Regions from separate parts of the Homo sapiens genome. Here all the other regions are linked to region 1. Evidence: promoter capture Hi-C in 16 types of primary human blood cells and fetal thymus (Javierre and others, 2016). All regions are on one chromosome and are shown on one strand. The core of a region is centred on a gene start or on the middle of the fragment in contact, and the rest is flanking DNA. Distances in the headings are between cores, read along the strand shown.

The links. Contacts are between HindIII fragments. The CHiCAGO score rates a contact against its expected background, and 5 or more counts as called.
Region 2: a contact is called between a fragment that was not itself captured here and the fragment with the promoter of OAS1 in region 1, in 1 of 17 cell types (naive B cells). The highest score is 5.7, in naive B cells.
Region 3: a fragment that was not itself captured here is called in contact with the fragment with the promoter of OAS1 in region 1 in 2 of 17 cell types (naive B cells and naive CD4 T cells); the score reaches 6.8 in naive B cells.

Annotation. Positions count from the first base shown.
Region 1 is chr12:112,904,471-112,909,357 of GRCh38, forward strand. It overlaps OAS1 (2'-5'-oligoadenylate synthetase 1), which reads left to right and starts at 2,492. Exons shown (of 6, transcript NM_016816.4): 1 at 2,492-2,749; 2 at 4,066-4,354. The coding sequence starts at 2,570. RefSeq lists an enhancer at 2,333-2,772. The HindIII fragment of the contact is 17,002 bases long and covers 1-4,887 here.
Region 2 is chr12:113,403,668-113,408,554 of GRCh38, forward strand. It overlaps SDS (serine dehydratase), which reads right to left and starts at 220. Exons shown (of 8, transcript NM_006843.3): 1 at 101-220. The HindIII fragment of the contact is 773 bases long and covers 1,623-2,395 here.
Region 3 is chr12:113,167,293-113,172,179 of GRCh38, forward strand. DDX54 (DEAD-box helicase 54) reads right to left here. Exons shown (of 20, transcript NM_024072.4): 12 at 2,478-2,612. Among named protein-coding and RNA genes, the nearest start is that of MIR7106, 11 kb to the left of the region's middle. The HindIII fragment of the contact is 648 bases long and covers 2,633-3,280 here.

The sequences.
Region 1 (4,887 bases), core at 1,242-3,741:
CACTCGGGGAGCTCAGCTCTTGAGACAGGGGTCTTGCCCATGCTCCCGGCCGAATAAACCCCTTCCTTCTTTAACTCGGTGTCTGAGGGGTTTTTGTCTGCAGCTCTTCCTGCTACAATGGTATGACTGGTTTGCTTTATCATACTTGGCCTAATTTTTTGCATACAGTGCAGCAAGAATCTTCAACTAGTAAATGAAGTGAGTATTGCAAAGACAGCACCCCACCCTCATGGTGACATTTAGTCTTAGGCCAAAGTCAACATCTTATACAGTAGGAGTGGAGAGTGTCAACTCATGAATAATCTGGTTAAGAGGTTAAGGGTTTGTAAGAAAGATAGTTGGCATTTACAAAATATTTCATCCAACAAAAACAGGAAACACATTCTTCTCAAACTCACACAGAACATTCACCAAGACATATTATGTTCTGGGCTAGAAAACACACTTTAACAAATTTCAACAGAGATATGTTATGCAAAGCATGCCCTTTACTACAATGGAATTAAAAAAGAAACCCACAAAAGAAAGATAGCTGGAAAATTCCAAAATATATGGAGATTAAAGAACACACCTCTAAATAACACATGGGGCAAGGAAGAAGTCTCAAGAGAAATTTTAAAATATTTTGGGCCAGGCTCAGTGGCTTACGCCTATAATCCTAGCACTTTGGGAGGCTGAGGCAGATGGATCGCTTGAGCCCAGGAGTTCGAGACCAGACTGGGCCACATGCAGAAACCCCATCTCTACAAAAAATACAAAAATTAGCCAGGCATGGTGGCATGTACCTGTAGTCCCAGCTACTTGGGAGGCTGAGGTGGGAGGATCACCTGAGCCCAGGAGGTCAAGGCTGCAGTGAGCTAAGATTGTGCCACTGCACCCCAGCCTGGGCAACAGAGTGAGACCCTGTCTCAACAAAATAAATAAATATATTTTGAATTAAATTAAAATGAAAAAACAGCCTATCAAAAAGTGTGGGATGTAGTGAAAGTAGTGTTTAGAGGGAAAGTTATAGCATTGAATGCATATATTAGGAGAAGAAAGATCTAACTCAGAGAGGGATGAACAGGTGAGGCATAGGGGATTTTAAGGTAGTGAAACTCTTGCAGGGCAGGGGAGCCCCAAAACTGGGACACCGTCCGGGAAGGCTCTTGGCTTCGTCCAGGAAGGAATTCAAGGGTGAGCTAGAGGAGGAAGAAAAAGGTTTATTGAGGCAGCAGGGTTACAGTTCTGTGACTGTCCCTGCAGAGCAGGGCCACCCCATAGGCAGTGCCTGGAGAGCAGCAGCTCAGGGCACTTCTATAGTCACATTCATACCCACTTTTAAATACGTGCAAATTAAGGGCAGGTTATTCAGAAATTTCTAGAAGAAGGGTGGTAACTGGGTCATTGCCAGGGAATGAGTAAACTGTTCATGGTGCTGGTGCTCATGCCAGCCAGTCTTCAATCTGGCCCTGAGTCAAGCCCCACCTCCTATCTCAAAACTATTCTGCATGGTGCTGTAATGGTGGATACATGACATGTTATGTTTGGCAAAATCCATAGAACTGTAGGACACAAGAGTGAACCTTAATGTAAACCTTAATGTAAATGGACTTTTGTTAATTATGATGTATTAATATCAATTCATCAATTGTAACAAATGTATCACAGTACTGTTAATAATAGAGGAACTTATTGGCAGGAGAGAGAGCTTATGGAACTCTCTGCACATTCAGCTCAATATTTCTGTAAGCCTAAAACTGCTGTGAGAAATAAAATCCAACCTGGGCAACATAGCAAGACCTTGTCTCTACAAAAAATAAAAAATGAGCTGGGTGCAGTAACGCATGCCTGTAGTCCCAGGTATTCAGGAGGCTGGGGCAGGAGGATCCCTTGAACCCAGGAAGTTGAGGTTGCACGAGTCATGATCATGCCCCTGCACTCCAGCCTGGATAACAAAGCAAGATCCTGTCTCCAAAAAATAATAAAATAAAATAAAAATCTACTAATTGAAAGGGAAAAAAGCATAGTATAATACCATTCTTAACAAAAAGAAAAGAGACCTGTGTTTGTGTGTGTGTTAACATTTGAAAAAAATCTGGAAAGCTCTATATCAAAACGTTTATAGAGGCAATTTTGTAGTGTTAGAATCATAGATGATCTTTCCACTTCCTGGTTTTTCTGACTTTTTTTCTTTTTGCAGTGGGCATGTATTGCTGGAAAATACCACAGACAACTGTGAAAGGATTTCATCAACAACAAAAAAAAGATAAAGAAGGAAACACAAAATCTGTTAAATAAGATTTATGTTGGCTGGAGGTTAAAATGCATTTCCAGAGCAGAGTTCAGAGAAAGGCTGGGCTGCTTGTTGCTGGCTAAAGGACAAAGGGTAAGTTTCAGGAAGCAGAAGAGTGAGCAGATGAAATTCAGCACTGGGATCAGGGGAGTGTCTGATTTGCAAAAGGAAAGTGCAAAGACAGCTCCTCCCTTCTGAGGAAACGAAACCAACAGCAGTCCAAGCTCAGTCAGCAGAAGAGATAAAAGCAAACAGGTCTGGGAGGCAGTTCTGTTGCCACTCTCTCTCCTGTCAATGATGGATCTCAGAAATACCCCAGCCAAATCTCTGGACAAGTTCATTGAAGACTATCTCTTGCCAGACACGTGTTTCCGCATGCAAATCAACCATGCCATTGACATCATCTGTGGGTTCCTGAAGGAAAGGTGCTTCCGAGGTAGCTCCTACCCTGTGTGTGTGTCCAAGGTGGTAAAGGTGAGTCCAGGCCTGCCTGGCCAGGGGAGGGGTGGCTGAATGTGCAAGAGTTGAGATTGAGAATGAGAGAGAGAGAGAGAGAGAAGCAAAAACCTAGAACCCAGGGTGCAAATGTGAGTACAGAGAGCTGAGATCTTCTGGGATGGTGGTTTCTTATTTATCCACACAGCATGTTAAAATAGATTCTGGGGTGAAATCCTACATCCCTATTATTAACAAGTGACCCTCCCCCCTACTTCCCGCTGAAGTTTATGAACCACTGTCCTGGGCGATGCCCATTTCAGAAATAGGGAACTGAATCCCAGCTCTGGTAAACAGTTTGCTAATTCGTGGCCAGGCTAGGGGCTCACCATTTCTGCAGTGAAGAATCATATGTTTTGAAAGCAAATAGCACCTGCTGGCTGCAAGACCTTGAGCAAGTCACTTAACTACTCTGTGTTCCAATTTCCTCAGCCATAATCCCCAATACTGTTGCAGTCTTGCCAGTGCACCTTAATGTAGCAGCTTCTCACTGAATTAGTACCCAAGGTTCTTTGTCCTGCATCCAAGAAAATTAAGGAACATGGACACAAACGTGAGCTTGGAGCAAAAGTTCAGTAAGCAAAAGAAGAAAGCTGTCTCCACTGTGGAGAGGGAAGTCTGAGTGGATTGCCAGATTGCAGCTGAATGCAAAAAACTTTTATAAGAAACCACTCTCCTCCCTGTAACTGTTTGAGAAACTTTTTATCAGTAAAGCTGTGCAACTTCCCTTACCTTATGCAGCTGTGGGTATATCTCTAGGCAAGCATAAAGCGCTGCTTCTCTTGTATGTATAACTGTGGATTTGTTTTAGGTAAGTCCCACTCCCTGCGCCAGTTTCAGGCAGGCCGCTCCTCCAGGGCCCAGCCTTGACCATTTACCTAACTGATTTTTCCTCTACTTTCCCTCAATACCTCATAGGGCCGTGTAGATTAAGTAAAATAGTAAGTGTGAACCACCCAGCATAAGCTAGTCCTGGGCATCGTAAAGGACAATGGGAAAAGAACACAGATCCTGGAAGAAGGCCCCCAGGTTTGAATTGTATTTGCCACCTACTAGCTGGGTGATGGGGCTGATATATTATCTCACTGAGCATCCATTTTCCCATCTGTAAAATGGGAACTAATGATAATGGCATCCAAATCATAGCATCATTGTGAGCATTATAGGAGTTTAAGACATGCAATGCCTTCAGAACAGTGGCTAGTGCTCCATAATGTTAGTGATTGCTCCTGTCATTTTATTTAGGGAGGTTTGCCTCACTAAGCATCAATTATTATTTTTGTCGTCTTTTTCAGGGTGGCTCCTCAGGCAAGGGCACCACCCTCAGAGGCCGATCTGACGCTGACCTGGTTGTCTTCCTCAGTCCTCTCACCACTTTTCAGGATCAGTTAAATCGCCGGGGAGAGTTCATCCAGGAAATTAGGAGACAGCTGGAAGCCTGTCAAAGAGAGAGAGCATTTTCCGTGAAGTTTGAGGTCCAGGCTCCACGCTGGGGCAACCCCCGTGCGCTCAGCTTCGTACTGAGTTCGCTCCAGCTCGGGGAGGGGGTGGAGTTCGATGTGCTGCCTGCCTTTGATGCCCTGGGTGAGAGCTCCCAGCTTCTTTTTCTCCCTCTTCCCATTTCTGAGCAGAAATCTCCCACAGTTTGAGAGCTTTTTGCCCCAACAGGGCATCTCTCTAAAGCAGGGTGGGAGGAGATCTTAGGATCTGTCCCGGGGCAAGAATGAATACGGTCATGATCTATCACAGGAGAGACATTAAACAGCAAATTGGCATAATGTGGGGACAAAGACATTTCTTACAGAACATCTGCAAGGCTTACTGGTTCTGTTTAAGGCAAAATGTGTGAATTTTATCTTTCTAAAATCAGGCAGCAAAGATGTGGCTTAAAGTTCATGTTACTCTCATCTTTGTCCCAACATGAGATCTCATCAAACGTATGCAGCACGTTGGGAGATAGATATTTATAATTTGCAGGAACATTTGGACAGGAAGTGTAACCTCTCAGAGGCTCCCTTGCCACATCAGGAGAATTGGTAAAACCACACTACCTGTATCATATCATTATTTTAAGTGATAAATGATCATCTACATTCAGCTCTGATGAGTAATAGGTG
Region 2 (4,887 bases), core at 759-3,258, 500 kb after region 1:
CTTGACAGACTCTTTCTATGTCTCCCTCTTCCCCTGGGAAACCACAGGCTAGCCCGGGACACTCCAGTCCTGAGGTGGGACTGAGGATGGGGCCACTTACCCGGCAAAGGTGATGGGTCTGAGCAGGAGTCAGAGCCAAGCCAGCGAGGGAGGGATCAACTGAGTAGATAGCCCACGAAGAGAGGGGGCTGAGGACGGGTGGACAGTCTTCTGAATGGTCCCAGGGGCTACTTGGTCCTGGGCTTTATTCCTCTGGCACCTCTGGGCAGCCAATGGGGCCCTGGGGCTGGCTACACCCCCCCCTCCCTCCTGCCAGGACCCACCCCCCTGGCTTGAGGCCACTGAGGCTGTCAGAAGGGAGGTGGAATCTGGCCAAGCTTTCTTCTTTGGCAGCTTCCTCCTGCCTTTCCCACAACCCACTCCTCCTCCCTCTTTCCACTTCCCCTTTCTGTCCTCAGTTTCGTGAAAGGAAAATAAAAAATTGGGACCCCCAACTCACTATGCCAAAAGAAAAAGAATTAAGCTAAAAGCTGAGTCATGTAAGAAACTGCCTTTCCTTTAGTTCCTAAGCAGATAGCTTCAGATGAAAGGTTAAATATTGGCTCCGCATTTTGGGAGGCCGAGGCGGGTGGATCACCTGAGGTCAGGAATTCGAAACCAGCCTGGCCAACATGGTGAAATCCCGTCTCTACTAAAAATACAAAAATCAGCCGGGTGTGGTGGCACGTGCCTGTAATCCTAGCTACTCAGGAGGCTGAGGCACAAGAATTGCTTGAACCTGGGAGGCAGAGGTTACAGTGAGACTAGATCTCGCCACTGCACTCCAGCCTTCACAACAGAAAGAAAAAAAAAAGTTAAATATCTCCACAGGTCGCTACTCTATGTTCACCTTATCTTATGTAAAGTGCCGATTTATTGAGATCAAGACAAATACATAATTGGCTACTTCCCTATCTGCCCCTCTTCTCTTACAAACTGTGGATTTGGTAATGTGGCCATAGCCTCCTTCTTTCCCCTCCAGCTTGCTTTTCTCCTTTAAATACTGACACCTAAAGTCATCTCTGGAGAAAAGCACAGACCTGTCTCCCAGGTGCATTCTTAACCCTGGCGAAATAAATTTCTAAATGGATTGAGTCCTGTCTCAATCTTTTTGATTCTTTTTGATTTACAGATTGGAGACTCATGAAAGGGACCCTGGGTGGAGGTGGCCCTGACCTTTGACAAGTCTCCTACTGGTGCTTGGTGGGTCTTGCTCTGTCACCCTGGCTGGAGTGCAATGGCATGATCTTGGCTCACTGCAACCTCCATCTCCTGGGTTCAAGCGATGCTCCTGTTTCAACCCCCCAAATAACTGGGAGTATAGGCATGTGCCACCACACTCAGCTAATTTTTTGTATTTTTAGTAGAGATGGGGTTTCACCATGTTAGCCAGGCTGGTCTTGAAGTCCTGACCTCAAGTGATCCACCCGCCTCAGTCTCCTAGAGTGCTGGGATTACAGGCGTGAGCCACCATGCCGGCCTTGAGCGATCTTGATTGCCCTCCAAAATAGGACAGTTTGCTGAGGCCTGGGAGCTCCCCACCTCCAGAGAACTCCTGATCTCCCACAATTGGTTGATATCTAAGCTTGATTTCCCTGAACAGCTCCTTTTCTGCGTTTTACTCACTTCCAACAAGGAAGGTGAGTTTTCTGGCTTCCATGATGATGGCAAGCAGGCAGCTCCTTTCTGGAGTTTCGCTTGTGTCCGGCAGGGAAGGCAAGTTTGAGATTTCCCCGCTTCTAGGATGGTAGAGAGCGGTCTTCAGCCTGGGCCCCATGACTAGAAGTTAGGGTTAACAACCAGCTGGTCTTAATTTCTCCCTACTTTTAGAGCGTGCAGTAATCGTATAAATTGCTTGATTGTTTGTTTCCCTTGCTTAACTGTTTTTGTTTCTGTTGTTGTTTTGTTGCTTCTGTCTTTTCCCCATTGGACTGGACCAACTCCATTTGACTTGGTCAAATCTGAAGGAAAGTTTCATATTATGGCGAACAAGGTCTCATGAATTGGCTAAATACCCACAGCTGGAAAAAAAAAAAAAGGAAAAAGAAAAAACAGCCAGCAAAAGAAAAAAGAGAGAGAGAGACAAGGATTTTGATTACCTGAGGGGCATTATTTACATAACAAGGCCATCTTTTGCTAGCCAAGCCAAACTGAAAGAGGCTACATGGCTGTCACCTCACGCTAGTTCAGTAGCTAAGATTCTGTTCCTTTTTCACCACCGTGGCCTGGGCTTGGTTCCTAAATCAAGTCCTTTCTGGTTTGATGTTTGTGTTACTTTTGAAATATTAGCAGTTTGTCCCAGCTAAAATATGGTGATGAGATTTAAAAGGATTTTTTAAAGAGCTCAATGGTTAAAAGCTTAATTAAAGGCGAATATCTAAGATGTGTGTGTGTGTGTGTGTGTGTGTGTATTTATTTATTTATTTATTCATAGGGCCTTAATGCATTTTTTTCTCTCTTAGGATCTGTTTTTTTTTTGAGATGGAGTCTTACTCTGTCGTCCAGGCTAGAGTGCAGTGGCATGATCTCAGCTCACTGCAACCTCCACTCCCTGGGTTCAAGTGGTTCTCCTGCCTCAGCCTCCCAAGTGGCTGGGATTACAGGCGCACACCACCACACTGGGCTATTGTTTTTGTATTTTTAGTAGAGACAGGATTTCACCATGTTGGCCAGGCGGGTCTTGAACTCCTGGCCTCAAGTTATTCACCGGCCTTAGGCTCCCACAGTGCTGGGATTACAGGTGAGAGCCGCCCCACTTGGCCAGGATCTTGTTTTTTGAGAAAAAGTTTTCTTTTTTCTTCTCAGTTGACTGATTTCTGTTTTTTCCAATTTACTTCTGCCTGTCTCCTTTCTCTTGCCACCCTCTACAGCTCAAGGAACCTAAAATAATTTCTAACAGCTTGGGACTCCCTTAAGGAAAACAGAGAAAGTGCCAGACTCCTTTTTGGGGAGAAACCTCTGTTTTTCCATAACCTTATGGAGCCCTAAGAATATAAACAGATAAGTTCCTCTCAGATCTTCAACTGCTTGCTTTTGTTGTGTGTTACCTGACTTCTTTTTTGACTAAAATCTTTATTACAACAGGGGCTACTCTTGAATGTTTAAAACAGGAGAGGGTCTGGATGTGTGGGCCTAGTTATATATAAAAAAATTTTTTTTAAAGATAAGAGAGAGTATGGTTTAGACCCTTAGAGAAATGTCTTTGCAACAAAGTACACTGTAAAAGCATCACACAGCCTAGGTCCACCATATCATTCTCTTTGGAGACCCGGGATTCAGTGTGGGCTCTGTCCAGAGCTCTGAGTTCCAGTTAAAAGATAGAAACTAAATGTAAAACTACCTATCTAAATAAAATATATTTATTTGATAGATTTCTATAACTTAATGTTTGATTTGATTTGCTTTTTTTTTTTTTTTTGAGACTCTGTTGCTCAGGCTGGAGTACAGTGGTGCGATCATGGCTCACTGCAGCCTTGACTTCCCAGGCTCAAACAATCCTCCCACCTCAGCCTCCCAAGCTGGTCTTGAACTCCTGAGATGGGAGGAGGTCGAGCCATCCTCCCATCTCAGCCTCCTAAAGTGTTGGGATTACAGGTGTCAGCCACCATGCCAGCTGTGGCATCCATTTTAAATCTCTCTAACACACCCAGACTCTCTTTTCTCTCTTTCTCTACTTTGAGATAAACATTTTGCTATCTGATTTTCATCTAAGAGTTGTTTATTTAGTATGTAAATTTAAGGCTATCTAGCTGGCAGTTGCCTAGGGTAATGAAACAGGTTATCCAGAAATTAGAGGTTGGGCTGGGCGTAGGGTGACTAGCACTAATTCCAGCATGTTGGGAGGCCTAGGTGGGAGGATGGCTTAAGCCCAGGAGTTTGACACCAGCTTGGGCAACATAGTGAGACCCCATCTCTACAAAAAATAAAAAATTAGCTGGGTATGGTGGCATGCAACTATAGTCCAAGCTACTTGGAAGGCTGAGGTGGGAGGATCACTTGAGCCTGAGTGGTTGAGGCTGCAGTGAGCCATGCCCACACCACTGCACTCCTGCCTGGGCAACAGAGTGAGACCCTGTCTCAGAAAAAAAAAAAAAAAAGAAAGAAACAAAGAAGAAAAGAAAAAGAAATTCAAAGTCTTAAATAGGAGGAAAAAAAAGGAAGTCTTATGAATTTATAAGATCTACCTCTGTCTGTGTCTAATACATGTATCTAATGTTACTACTAAAAATAGACAACAGAGCTCTAATGAAATGATTTAAAGAAAAAAGTACTTAAATCAGATACTTTATCAGAAAAATAGAGACTGTGAGCCCAAATGCTTTCTCAGGATTCACAAAACTTGGGACACCAATTCACTCTGCCAAAATTGAGCTGGAAGCTGAGTCATGCAAGAAGCGGCCTTTCCTTTCGTTCCTAAGCAGAGAGCTACAGTAGAAGCTTAAATATGAGACAAACACATAACTGACTATTCCCCTACCTGCTCCTCTTCTCTTGAAACATGTGGGTTCAGTAGTGTGACCGTACCCTCTTTCTTTTCCTTCCAGCTTCCAGCCTGCTTTTCCCCTTTAAATATTGAAGACGTAAAATCATCTATGGAGAAAGGCAAGGACCTGTCTTCTGGTTGTGCCCTTGCCCTTAACCTTGGCAAAATAAACTTTTAAATCGATTGAGAACTGCCTCAGATACTTCCTTTTTTTTTTTTTTTTTTGAGATGGAGTCACCCTGTTGCCCAGCCTGGAGTGCAGTGGTGAGATCTTGGGTTGTTGCAACCTCTGCCTCCTGGGTCCAAGCAATTCTCCTGCCTCAGCCTCCTGAGTAGCTGGGATTACAGGCACCCACCACCATGCC
Region 3 (4,887 bases), core at 1,707-4,206, 260 kb after region 1:
CTTGAGCCTAGGAGGTCAAGGGCGCAGTGAGCTGTGATCGTGCCACTATACTCTAGCCTGGGTGACAGAGTGAGCCCCTCTCAAAAAATAAAATAAAATGAAATAAAATAAAAAAGCAAAACAACAAAAGAAAAACAAAAAGCTGAGGGAAGAGCATGATGGACCTCATGGGCCCATCACCCAGCGTTAATTACCAACATTTGGCCAATCTTGCAAGAAAGGCCCTGATGAGTCCCTTTTAGAGAGGAGGAAACTGAGGCTCCTGGAGGTTTAGAGATTTGCCAAGGGGCACGTGGTAAGGGTCAGGGTCGGAAACCGAACCCTGCACTGGGTCAGGAGCCTGCCCTCTTCCCATCTCTCCAGATTAAGCAGGTGCTGGGCCCTGCTGACCCCTGGCTAGCTCTGGAGCAAATGCAGGATGTCTCTCCCTAAAAGCTAACTGCACCGGGGGTGGTTTCTGCCTGGACATTGGGGGAGGCTCCTTCCCTCCCTCTGCCCCTCCCACGCCCATGCACAGCTCTCAACCCAGGAGGCTGCAGATCTGTAGAGCCTGTACGGGGCTGCGTGCTGCCTCTGGCCCTGGGCGCAGGGTCCATTTCCTCCTGCTCCTGCCTGTCACTGGGCCCCTGGGGCTGCCAGGTGGGGCTGTGCTTGCACCTCCCTCCCTTGGCCCTTGCACTCTCAGCTTTGCCCCCAGGAAAATGCTTTGAAATGCCCTTTAGGCGCCCCTTCCAATTCACCCCTGCGTGGCGCCCGACTGAGGCCTCCACCTCCAGTGACTGCACAGGCCGCCCCCCACCCCGGCCAGGCCCCGCAGCCCTTTCCTGTGCCCTTGCATCTGACCCCAGACTTTCTGCTATGGTGTCTGCTTTCCAGCCGCCTCCAGGCATGGGCTGGGACACTGCAGGGCCACATGGTCACCTGAGGGGGCCGTGGCCTGGACAGAGACCACCACTGGCAGCCAAGAGTGAACAGCCGAGGCAGAGGGGGCCCGGAGCTCTGAGGGCTGCGCTCTCTGCTGACCACTGGCTAGGCTGTCCGGAGGAAGCCGCCTCAGCTCTCTGAGCTTGAGTCTTGGGCCTCTGGGGGGGCCTGAATCTCAGCTCCCCACCTCCCTGCTGTGTGCATGCGGGTAGGCCTGTCAGAGCCGTTCTCTCATCTGTGAAGCAGAGGTGATGACAGCCCTCCCTCTAGCACAGATGGACAAATGAGACAAGATGTGTCCAGGGCCCGGGAACCAGCAGGACTGCAGGTGGAGGCCCATAGTTGGAGGCCCACAGATGGAGGCCATGGTGATTGCTATTGTCTGTCCCATGCATTCCCATTCTAGGATGTATACAGAAATGTCCTGTGGGCGGCTGGGCACAGTGGCTCACGCCTGTAATTCCAGCACTTTGGGAGGCCGAGGCGGGCAGATCACCTGAGATCAGAAGTTCAAGACCAGCGTGGCCAACATGGTGAAACCCTGTCTCTACTAAAAATACAAAATTAGCTGGGCGTGGTTGTGTGTGCCTGCAGTCCCAGCTACTCGGGAGGCTGAGGCAGGAGAATCGCTTGAACCCAGGATGCGGAGGTTGTGGTGAGCCAAGATTGCACCACTGCACTCCAGCCTGGGCAACAAGAGCGAAACTCTGTCTCAATAAATAAATTAAAAATGTCCTGTGGGCTTGGTCTGAATGAGCCTCAGCCTCTCTTTCCCTCCGCTGCGCTCCCCTGAAAACTCATCAAGTATAGGGTCACACACTAGATGCCTGCAGGGGCTGGGCAGGCCACACTGACAGGAAGGGGAGGCAGGCAGGGGCTGCAGGGGACCAGGAAGCCTGTCTAATGGGGGTGCCACAGCTTAGCACCCAGATCCAACTGTTTCCCAGTAGATACCAGAAATCTGGATTGTTGTGGGAAATCCTGAGTTTAAAATAGAGGGATTAGCCAGGCATAGTGGCTTGCTTGAGCCCAGGAGTTGGAAGTTGCAGCGAGCCATGATCGCACCACTGCACTCCAGCCTGAGCAAGAGTAAGACCCCGTCTCGTTAAAAAATAGAAGGAATCAGCCGGGCGCAGTGACTCACACCTGTAATCCCAGCACTTTGGGAGGTGGGCGAATCACTTGAGGTCAGGAGTTCGAGATCAGCCTGGCCAACATGGTGAAACCTTGTCTCTACTAAAAATACAATAAAAAATTTGCCAGGCGTGGTGGCGGGCATCTATAGTCCCAGCTACTCGGGAGGCTGAGGCAAGAGAATGGCTTGAACCTGGGAGGCAGAGGTTGCTGTGAGCCAAGATCACACCACTGCACCCCAGCCTGGGCAACAGAGCGAGGCTCTGTCTCAAAAAATAAACAAAACAAATAAAATACAATAAAATAAATAAAAGGAATCATCTTCTGCTGGGGTCAAACCCAGCCCTACCTCCTCCCACAGCCAAAACAGGGCCCATGAACTCCACGGGGACCCCTATCCCCACCCAGCCTCCACTCACCTGAGGGCTCCTTGAGGGGTCGGGCGAGGGTGAGGGAGCGGCCCAGGAACAGGTGCAGATCCAGCAGGTAGGGGATTTCATCAGGGGCCACCAAGGAGTAGGCTGTGCCACTTCGGCCAGCCCGAGCCACACGGCCTGCAGCAAGGAGACGTTCAAGCTTAATTAAGCAAAGAAGGACCCGGACCCAGCATGAGTTCCACAGGCCAGACCCTGAGCAGGTGAGCCTGGCCAAGCCTCGAACCTCACACGGCTGCTGTCCCCACCTACGCACAGGGAAGTTTAATCCCGGTCCCTAGGTTGATCTGTGAGAGTGTGCCCAAGCTGACACAGTGCTCTGGGAGACTAGCAAAAATACAGCAAGGCCCTGCTCATGAGCATGATCAAAACTCTTCAGTGTCCCCACTTTTGAGAATTCCCCGCAAAGATGTAAAGATTCACACACAAGGAGGTTTAGTGTGGCCCTGACTAGGACAGCCCCAAGTTGGAAACTAAAGTCTCAAGGGTAGAGGACTAGATAAGTGAATTAGCTGATGGCCACACAGTGGGAATTAAACAGCTCAGGAAAAGAGTGGGCAAACTGCAGCCTACAGGGCCAGGCTGGTGGCTCACGCCTGTAATCACAGCACTTTGAGGGGCTGAGGTGGGAGAATCACTTGAGGCCAGGAGTTCGAGAACAGCCTGGGCAAAATAGCAAGACCCCATGTCTACAAAAAACGAAAATTAGCCAGATGTGATGGTGTGTGCCTGTAGCCCTAAGTACTTGGGAGGCTGAGCTGGGAGGATTGCTTGAATCTGGGAGTTCAAGCTTACAGTGAGCTATGATCATGCCACAGCACTAGAGCCCAAGCAACAGAGTGAGATCCCGGCCCCCTGCTTGTCTGTGTAAATAAAGATTTATTGGAACACAGCCACACTCATTTGTTTATATATTATCTATATAAATGAATAGGCAGCAGTCACACGACAGCAGCAGAGATGAACAGTTATGACAGAGACAGTATGGTCCACAAAGCCTAACGTTTCATGTCTAGCCCCTTACAGAAAAGATGTGCCAACCCATCACAGAATGACATTTCATAGTAAACGAAAAACATTCGTGATGTATGGTGATGTAAAAAGAAAAAAACAAAAAGCCAGTTATAAAAAAGAACACCCAATATGATTGCAATTTTGCATGAAGTACCTAAATCACTACATAGCATTATATTTTGGTTTGTCTCTGTATCTTGGGAAAACAAGGTGTTATGACATTTGGAGATTTCATTTGAGGTTGTCTGACCGGCACTGTTGGTCTTGTGAGGCACAAGAAATTCCCTTTGGGGGCGTCCTGGGGACCTCCCTAGGGACATGCAGAACCAGCTCTCCACACAGCAACAGAAACTAGGGGACAGCAGACAGCAACAAGGGGGAAGTGCACCCACCACATGACACTTATGAATTAAAAGAAGGCAAAGAAAGTAGAATAACAGTTACCAGGGGCTGCGGGAGGGGAATAAGGAGATTTTGTCTGACGGATAGAGCTTCAATTTTGCAAGATGGAAAAGTTCTGGGGCCAAGCATGGTGGCTCACGCCTGTAATCACAGCACTTTGGGAGGCTGAGGCAGATGCATCACTTGAGGTTAGGAGTTCAAGACCACCTTGGCCAACATGGTGAAACCCCTGTCTCTACTAAAAACACAAAAAATTAGCTGGGCCTGGTGGCGAGCACCTGTAATCCCAGCTACTCGGGAGGCTGATGCAAGAGAATAGCTAGAACCTGGGAGGTGAAGGTTGCAGTGAGCCGAGATCACACCCCTGCACTCCAGCCTGGGGTACAAAGCAAGACTCTCAAAAAAAAAAAAAAAAGTTTTGGGGACAGATGGTGGTGACAGTTGCACAATGGGAACAGACTCAATGCCACTCCACTGCACACTGGGAAATGGCAAAATGCTGAATTGCATGCTATGTCTACTTTACCACAACTTAAAATAGAAACATCAGAAGAATGGACACACACCAAAATGACGGCCATGTCATCAGAGAGCAATGGGGGACAGTGATCTCTGAAATGAGACCACAGCTGTTCCGTGACTTACGAAGGGCTGCGTCTCAATAAACCCAATAGCCGTCAAAAACACACGCACGGCACCTAACCCACTAAACATCGCAGCTCAGCCAGCCTGCCTTGAGCATGCTCCAAATACTTCCATTAGCCTACCCTTGGGCAAAATCATCCCACACATAGCCGATTTTAAAATAAAGTGTTGAGTATCTCATGTAACTTATTGAATACTGTACTGAAAGAAAAAAATAGAACAGCTGTATGGGTGCTATTGTAAAGTCAAAAAAACCATAAGCTGAATAATTGGGTTGTTTTTTTTTTTTGGTTTTTTTGAGACAAGATCTTGCTCCGTCACCCAGGCTGGATCG